Linked DNA regions of Homo sapiens: region 1 is linked to region 2. The links are contacts of gene promoters, found by promoter capture Hi-C in blood cells and fetal thymus (Javierre and others, 2016). All regions are on one chromosome and are shown on one strand. Each heading gives the region's core, a stretch centred on a gene start or on the middle of the fragment in contact. The rest is flanking DNA. Distances are from core to core; before and after follow the strand shown. Region 1 overlaps BRDT (bromodomain testis associated). Region 2 holds the start of C1orf146 (chromosome 1 open reading frame 146).

Evidence for each region. The method cuts DNA at HindIII sites, captures the fragments that hold promoters and counts their contacts. A CHiCAGO score of 5 or more calls a contact.
Region 1: a fragment that was not itself captured here is called in contact with the fragment with the promoter of C1orf146 in region 2 in 1 of 17 cell types (M1 macrophages); the score reaches 5.7 in M1 macrophages.

Annotation. Positions count from the first base shown.
Region 1 is chr1:91,997,296-92,002,028 of GRCh38, reverse strand. All of the region lies in intron 15 of BRDT (bromodomain testis associated), which reads right to left. Among named protein-coding and RNA genes, the nearest start is that of EPHX4, 30 kb to the left of the region's middle. The HindIII fragment of the contact is 1,349 bases long and covers 1,437-2,785 here.
Region 2 is chr1:92,214,908-92,219,410 of GRCh38, reverse strand. It overlaps C1orf146 (chromosome 1 open reading frame 146), which reads right to left and starts at 1,496. Exons shown (of 6, transcript NM_001012425.2): 1 at 1,363-1,496. The HindIII fragment of the contact is 5,529 bases long and covers 638-4,503 here.

The DNA.
Region 1 (4,733 bases), core at 862-3,361, 220 kb after region 2:
AATAGTATAATTAAAATATTTCATCCTACTTACCCAGAATTTGATTTTATTTTTCCTTCCAGGTCAGACACTATGAAAACAAAGAGACTAATTTTTTGATGCATCATTTAACTTTGGAATATTCTTAGTTAGGGACTTGTTATACTATAAAATATTTCTCATTTGAAAGTTACCACTTTGCTCTTTTTTTGTTATTTTTGCTTGTTCTGGTCAGCATGAAATATAGCTGACATCATACTCACCCACCAAAACCTTTTTATCTGACCCCATGCTATAGCAGCTCTCCAGTTTAGACTGACCTCAGCTCCAGAGGTGTGTTTTTTTTTTTTGCGGGGAGAGGGTCTTGCTTTGATGCTCTAGGCTGAAGTACAGTGGTGCAATCTTGGCTCACTGCAACCTCCACCTCCAAGGTTCAAGCAATTCCCCTGCTTTAGCCCCCTGAGTAGCTGGGATTACAGGCACCCACCACCATGCCTGGTTAATTTTTGTATTTTTAGTAGAGATGGGGTTTTACCATGTTGGCCAGGCTGGACTTGAACTCCTGACCTTCAGTGATCTGCCCGCCTCAGCCTCCCAAAGTGCTGGGATTACAGGCATGAGCCATTGTGGCTGGCCAGGCCTGTAAATTTCAACATGAGTTTTGGAGAGGACAAACATTCAAAACCATAGCATAACTTATCTAAAGCAATTTAGACTGCTGATAAAACCCAGTTATCACTAAACATTTACTGAGCACATACTATGTACTAAGCACTGGGAACGTAAGGATGACTAAAATGTAATAACTATCCTCAGGTATTACGCGCCCAGCCTAGAGGTGGGTTTTAATAAGGCCAAGCCAATCCTGGTAATTCTATCTCACCATCAGTAACTCATTTAGGAAGAGCAGACCTAAGCCAGTGCAGGGCTTCCAAGGGAAAGATGCTGCCTGGGTGGCCAATTGGAGACAAAAAAACACAGAGAGGGAAACTAAGATACCAGACACTCAAAATAGCTACCAAGGGAACAGGGATGTGAAACGCAGTAAGTCTGACTCTGAGGTGAGGAGAACAAACTATGCAATTTCATTAATTCTTAAGTTTTCATGCAAATATTTCATTTATTATTATTGTGAAGATTAACTACAGAGTGTGAGCCCTTATCAAGCCATGACTAAAAGATTGACCTATCTTTGGACTATTGCTTATGTATGCCAACAAAATTCCTTTATTAAATCAGTTTGGGCTGAGTTTTCTGTCATCTGCAACATGGAACATCCTGATGCGTGAAACTTAATTGATCACTTGATTCAATTCTCTCTAGTCATAGTCTACAGGTTCTAATTCGTGGCTGAAGAACAAGAGGGACAAATCAAAACTGAGCTGCTGTCTTTGTTAACTAACCCAAACTAACAAAATCCTGGCCACTTACATATTATAGGGACTTACATTTAAGCTTCTACCATCCATCAATCCCTTGACTGATTCTCTGGCTAAATCATACTGAGGTTGAGGTTAGAAGAAGAGAGCAAGGAACATCAAGGAATAGCAGTGAGCATAGGAGGGCAAGACAAAACACTGTCAAAGAATGCAGAACAAAAGCTCACATTTTTAATTTGTACGTCTGTACACAGCCTCAATGTAGCCATGTTTCCTCACTTCAACAAGGAAAGGGAAAAAATAGTGAGAAAAGCTGTAAGTATAGGACTGCCTTCCCTTCTCTGCTTCCTGTCAGTGATTATTTAGGAAGGAGAAAAAGTATGTATGGTAAGTGAAATTCTAAAGTGACCCTTAATTTGCTGACTCTAAGTTGGTAAGTGGTGATAGTGCCATTATTGACAATTAAAGAGGAAGGATTAAAATCTGGGGACCAGACTGGGTGCACTGGCTCAGGCCTGCAATCCCAGCACTTTGGGAGGCCAAGGCGGGAGGATTCCTTAAGCCCAGAAGTTTGAGACCAGCCATGGTGAGATCCCATCTCTACCAAACAAAACAAACAAATAACAACTTAGCTGGGCATGGTGGCACACATTTGTGGTCCCAGCTACTTGAGAGGCTGAGGTAGGAGGATGACTTGAGCCCAGGCGGTTGAGGCTGCAGTGAGCCATATTTGCGCCACTGTACTCCAGCCTGAGCAACACAGGCAGACTGTCTCAAAAAAATAAATACAATCTGAGGACTAAAAGGGGGAATTCAGTTTTTACATGGCTGTGTTTGGAATGCCTATGTGATGTTTAAGTAAAGACATTTAGTAGAGTTGTATAAACATGCCTGGGGCCTGGATACATTTGAATTGTAAAAATGAGACTAGAAGTCATGGATGCCAAAGATCACCCAAGTATAGAGCACTGCTTCCAACCTTTTCCATGTCATGATATATAGAAAATGATCAATGTATGGCCACCTGCATAAATGGAAAGGCTGCTCCCAGCTCATTGCTATAAGAGCTGAGGGGACATTCATTCAGTAAGACTGTGCTTTGAAACATGGTTGGGAAATTCTGGGGTAGATGAAAAAAACAGAGAGGCTTAAGGATGCAATTCAGAGAATTATCAACATCTAAAGGGAGGCAAATAAAGAGATATCTGTAAGGAACAGACAGATGGGATTGTTAAGAGAGGTGTCATAAAAGCCTAGGAAGTATGTCAAGGGTCCAACTCTCTGAAAAATATTTTTACATGAATGACCCTGTGATACCTCAAAAGACTACAAAACTCATCTTTCCTCAGAAGCCTATTCTTCATCTTGTGTCCCGGGTCTGTCAACCTGGACAGTATCCAGCCAGTATCCTGTGAGCCACCGAAGCTTATATCCCTGGGTTATTAACCCAGCATGTTTTCATATTTTGCAGACCTGCCCATTCTACTCTTGCAATTTCTTTTAACTTTCCCCTTCTCTTTCCTTCTATCACTTTATGTCATTTTTTCCCTACTACTGCAACAGCCCAGCTGGTCTCCTTCCCTTCTCTGGTCTCTATATTCTCCTTTCCTTCAACTCACCTAAATAATATTGGCAAATTAATCACTCAGAGGCACACCTTCACTCAAAAAAACCTTCATTGCCTCCCCACTGACTATGCTATTATAATTAAGTCCAAAGTATCTAAAGGGTTAAATGATCTAAACCTGGTCTACCTTTGTAATTTTCCACATTCCTGTTTAATCCAACCAAATCTTTAATCACATGGAATTATGAGTTGCCTAAATACCTTCACATTCATGTTGCTTCCTCCATCCAAATGCCTTTCCATACTAAATAAACATAGGTAAGCCTTATTTTTTTTCTGCACTATCCAGCTCAAATGATACTCATTCTGTAAAATATGTATCTGCCAAACACATCAGGTGATTCTGCCTTCTTCACCTCCTTAAACTTCACTTTAGGTTCTTTCAGGGCACATTATTTTTACTTTATATACCAGTTGTTTATTTCTCCTATGAGATAGCAAACTCCTGGATTTACTTTTTCATTTGCAATTATGAATTCATGTTTATATAACAGCCTAAATATTTTAAAAACTCAATATAATTTGGTGAAGTTTAAAAAAATTTTTTTATTATACTTTAAGTTCTGGGATACATGCGCAGAATGTGCAGGTTTGTTACACGTGCCATAGTGGTTTGCTGTACCCATCAACCTGTCATCTACATTAGGTATTTTTCCTAATGCTACCCCTCTGCTAGCCCCCCATCCCCCAACAGGCCCCAGTGTGTGATGTTCCCCTCCCTGTGTCCATGTGCTCTCAGTGTTCAACTCCCACTTATGAGTGAGAACATGCAGTGTTTGGTTTTCTGTTCTTGTATTAGTTTGCTGAGGATGATGGTTTCCAGCTTCATCCATGTCCCTGCAAAGGACATGAACTCATCCCTTTTCATGGCGGCAATTTAGTGAAGTTTTTATGAGAAGGGGAAAGGGTAAACTATAAGGATAAGGGTATGGCTAAAAGCTTCAACTTATAAGGAAAAAAAATTCAACATTGTCCATTTCATGTGGAGATCATATGTGGGCAGGTGTGATGAAAACCAGTAACACTTAAAAATTCATTTTTTAATCTTTTATGTACTCTAACATTTTGTCAAACTATTTTTCCAATAAGAAAACTTCAACATATTGCTTTTATCATTTAATTGTAAGGTTTAACAAAAAATTTATTTCTATTGAGATTTAACTCCAGAAAAAGAAAATGTCTCTATAAATTTTATGGCTCACATACATTTGCAATTTCCCTTGGGCATAGTGCCACCTACAGTTGGCAAATGTAAACCATGTTGTTTCTGAGAATCTTGCTAACTGCAAAAGAACAGCTACTCTGGCATCATCCAAACTTTCCTTTATATATTAGCTTACTAATAGGCATCATATAAACAGAATTTCAAGTAATATAATAAACTGATCCTTACTGAAGGTGTAGGTATTAAAAGCCTGACTTTTCATAGATAGGGTGTTTTCTTAAATTAGGAATAAGAGAACACCTTGACTACATTCTCACCTTTGTTTTTCATAATCTATTCCTTTTCAAGGGCAAGGCTACCCTAGCATTCTTATAAAACATACTCTAGTTAAAAGAGTAACTTTTTCCTACTTTAGCTCTTTATAATGAGCCTTCAAATGTTCAAATCCCTCCAATTAAAAAACTCAAAATAATCTTGCCCACTCCTCCAAAAAATCTATTTTCCTGTTAAAGCCACAAATATCTTTCCATCCTCTTTACCAACAAAGTTCTTCAAAGAATGCTTTACATTCACTACACTCAAA
Region 2 (4,503 bases), core at 247-2,746:
AGTTCTTCCTGCTGAGTTGAAACCAGCTGCTCTCTAATTTCCTCATTTATTGCATGAATGAATGAATGAGAAGTTAACTAGCTCCATGAGAGCAGGGACACATTCTGATTCTGTTTTACCTTACTCAGCACCTGGCACTCAGTAGACACTCAAAGATTTGTGAATGAGTAAATGGTGAGTTGGCTGGGGGAAGGGCTTCAACTTCTATAACCCCCCCTACACATACTTACTAATACACCCACATAGCTATGAATACATATATGCAAAGGTTACAAGAACTTTTTGGAGTAGTTACTGGTATGTATGTGGATATGTATGTTTGTGCCTATCAGTTAGTAATCCATAAATGTTCATTTAAATCTTTACACCCTTATACATAGGTTTTAAAAACAATTTAACTAAAGCTAAGAGAAGTAAAGTAATCACGTGCACAATAAGTGAGAAAGGAGTGGGGTCAGTCGTGTCCCAAGTCCCTGTTAAAGGTGAGGAATGAATCAGAAACCTGGGGCTGGGGCAGTGCCTTCTCAGCATTTCTGGGGAAAAGCTCCTCGACCAGCAGCCAAGCAAGGACTGTGTGGCTTTGGGCAAATCACGTCACCTCTGGTTAGGCTGCATCCTCACCTGAAAACAAAAAGCTTCTAAACGGGAGGTGAACGCTGAGCGTGCAGGGACAGAGGGGAGGGGCAGGCGCGGGGGACGGGACCGGGGGACCAGAAGGTGGAGGAGGGACAGTCACTAATGGGCACCTGGGGGACGACAGAATCTGGACAACAAACTCCCGTGACACGAGTTTAACCTATGTAACACACCTGCACACGGACTCCTGAACCTAACATAAAAGTTAAATTAAAAATAAAAACAAAAAGCGTGGGCCCAGTGGCCTCTTAAACCTTTGCCAGTTCCAAGGCCCTGGTATTCTGGGCTTTTGTTGCTACTGTTTTGTTTTTTCCAAGCTCTGGAGTGTTTGCAAATTTAAGTTTAACACTGCCCCATCATCTCCAGCAAGTCACTTTCCCTGCTCAGTCTCCTCACGGGTCCAGTGAGGCGCCGGCCTACAAGGATCTTCACGGTCTCTTCCATTCTTTACTTTTCGGAGTGACCAACAAAGCCTAAAGCAAATAAAATTTACACTCGCAGGTGGGTGACGGACTTCTGACAGGGAAAACCCCGAGGGAGCCCTTTCCACACCGATTCTCAAGGGGAAAATAGGGTGGGCAGGATCTCCTCCCCTCACCCGCCAAAGCCCTGAGGTAAAGCTCTGAGCTCGGCAAGTCAGAGAGCACTACGCCGGCGAAGAACGAAGAAAGAAAAACGCGAAGAGACAGGTCTGCCGAGGCCTCATCCCCAGCGCTGCAAACCCACCTGCTCACCAGGTCCTCAGAGACCGCTCAGGGTTTCCCAAACTTCCAGAACGTTCCGTGAGCAGTGAGAGGCGCCGCCGGTAGGGCAGAGCGCCCAGGGTGCCTGGGGCAGGGTTCTGCAGTCGCTGGGCTTCTGCGCAACCGCAGACCCCGCAAACCTTTTCCGCGCTTCTGGCTCCCTAGAGCGAGGTTTGCAGGAAGCCGGAAGTGGTTAAGAAGATACAAGATTTGTAGGCCTGGCGCGGTGGCTCATGCCACTAATCCCAGCACTTTGGGAGGCCGAGGTGGGCGGATCACGAGGTCAGAAGTTTGAGACCAGCGTACCAACATGGTGAAACCCCGTCTCTACTAAAAATGCAAAAATTAGCTGGGCATGGAGGCGCGCACCTGTAATCCCAGCTACTCGAGAGGCTGGGGCAGGAGAATCGCTTGAACCCAGGAGGCGGAGGTTGCAGTGAGCGAGATCGCACCACTGCACTCCAGCCTGGGTGACAGGGCAAGACTCCGTCTCAAAAAAAAAAAAAAAAAAAAAACAAGATTTTTGCGTGTTAGACTCAGTTGTCCGGAATTGATTTTCACAGTTTTCTAAAATTCAGGCTCAATTCTTAGATTTCTGTCATTTGCAACATAAAATCAAAGTGGCCTTCAGTTTATCCAAATTATGAAAAAGGTAGATTTTCATGAGCAGCTGTCAAAAGGACATACAGGGGCCTGTGTGTTTGCTTTTTAGGACCCCATTATGTTCAGACCTAATTGAAGCTCAGCAATTTATTAAGTGTCACAATCATAAAAATGTAAAAAGACAAAGACCACTACTTGCCTTGAGCCTAATGGTTAGGATACAAAACTATGTGCCTTACTTTGTAAAACAGGTATTCCTGTAGAAAGAAAGGTGCTCCAGGAAAAATCCTTTGGAGCACACTTGTGATGTGCTGTTAATTTTTCCCTGTGATAACCATTTTGTATGTTTGGCATTTTGTATAACTGATATTAAAATTAGGTGCACTCTTGCTGCCTCATTTGGGCAGTTTGTTAAGCCACCACACCTGGCCTCTTGTTTATAAATTACCTGGTCTAAGGTATTTTGTTATCGTGGCCATAATGGACTAAGACAATTCCTCCTCTCTTCAAATCTCCAGAACTTATTCCTCATCTTCATTTTCGGCTGAAGTGAAATAGTTACTGCTAATATTTCATAAAGATTTATGATTTTAATAGTATTTAGTATTTAATATTAAATACTATTCAAATGAGATAAATAAAAGCATCCAGAAACGAAGTTCCACAGATGTCCACCTACCAATCTACCAACATCTATATGCCAGATTCTGCTTTCTTTCCAACTATAGTAGGTGAACTGTATAATCCTATGTAAGGCCAGCCCTCAAATGGACAACAGAGCCCATCTCTTCTTGCTTACCCAAGAATATAGCTCCACCGGCCAGTCGCGGTGGCTCACGCCTGTAATCCCAGCCCTTTGGGAGGCTGAGGCAGGTGAATCACAAGGTCAGGAGATCAAGATCAGCCTGGCCAATATGGCAAAACCTCATCTCTACTAAAAATACAAAAAATTAGCCAGGTGTGGTGGTGCACACCTGTAGTCCCAGCTACTTGGGAGGCTGAGGCAGGAGAATTGCTTGAACCTGGGAGGCAGAGGTTGTAGTGAGCCAAGATCATGCCACTGCACTCCAGCCTGAACAACAGAGCAAAACTGTCTCAAAAAAAAAAAAATATATATATATATATATATATATATATATCCACCAATTATTTCCTGACTCTTACAATCTTCAATTTTCTCCTCTCCACTGAATAGTCTCAATAGCAAATAAATATGCCATTATTTCTCTCATCTTAAAATCTCTTAATCTCCTCTCCCACACCAGCTAACAATCCATTTCTCTGCTCTCTTTACAGAAAAACTCAAAAGGATTGTCTATAATTTCTGTTGCTAATGCCCTTTTTTCCCATTCTTTATCAAATTTATTCCAATCAGACTTTTTCATTTCCACCATACCACAGAAATTGCTCATGTCAAAGTCATTGGTAAATCCAGCAAACAGCTGTCAATACTAATTTTACTTGGTCAATCAGCAGTACTTGTTACAGTTGATCATTCCCTCCTCCTGGAAAAACTTTCTTTCCTTGGCTTCCCCATATCATGCTCTCATGGTTTCCCTCCAGCCTCACTGGCCATTTATCAGCATCCTTATTGGTTCTTCCTCAAAACCCAACCTTTTAATCTTGCTTGGAGTGCCGCAAGCTCAGTCCTTGGACCTCTTTTCTTCTCTGGGTATATTTGTTACTTTGGTGTCCTCCTTAACTCATAGTGTTAGATATCATCCATGTGCTGACAAATTCCAAATATCTATCTACAGCCCTGGCCTTTCCCCTGAACTCCAAACTGGTATAACCAATTGCTGTTTAATATTTCCAGTAATAGACATCTCAAATTTCACATGTCCAAAACTGAACTTCTGACTTCCCCTCCCAATGCTGCACCATCTATAGTCTTCCTTATCTCAATTAAAGATTACACATATTTTATTTAAATACTTTGACTGTCTTACATACCCTTTTCAGCCATCAGGAAGTCTTGTTGCCTGTACTTTCAAAATATATCCAGAGCCTGACCACCTTTCTGGTTTGAGCCACCATCAGCTTTCACCTGGATTATTGCAATAGACTCCTAACAGGTTTCCGTTTTCACCTTGCCCCTAAAGTCTTTTTTCAACATAGCAACCAGGGTAATCCTTTGAAACAGAAGTCAGATTGTGTCTTTCCTTTGCTTAAAACCATATAATTGCTCTCAAAAAAAAAAAAATAAAAAAACAGGCCAGGCACAGTGGCTCAACGCTTATAATGCCAGCACTTTAGGAGCCCGAGGCGGGTGGATCACCTGAGGTCAGGAGTTCAAGACCAGTCTGACCAACATGGAGAAACCCTGTCTCTACTAAAAATACAAAATTAGCCAGGCATGGTGGTGGATGCTTGTAATCCCAGCTACTCAGGAGGCTGAGGCAGGAGAATTGCTTGAACCAAGGAGGTGGAGGTCGTGGTGAGCCGAGATTGCACCATTGCACTCCAGCCTGGGCAACAAGAGTGAAACTACGTCTCAAAACAAAACAAACAAACAAACACC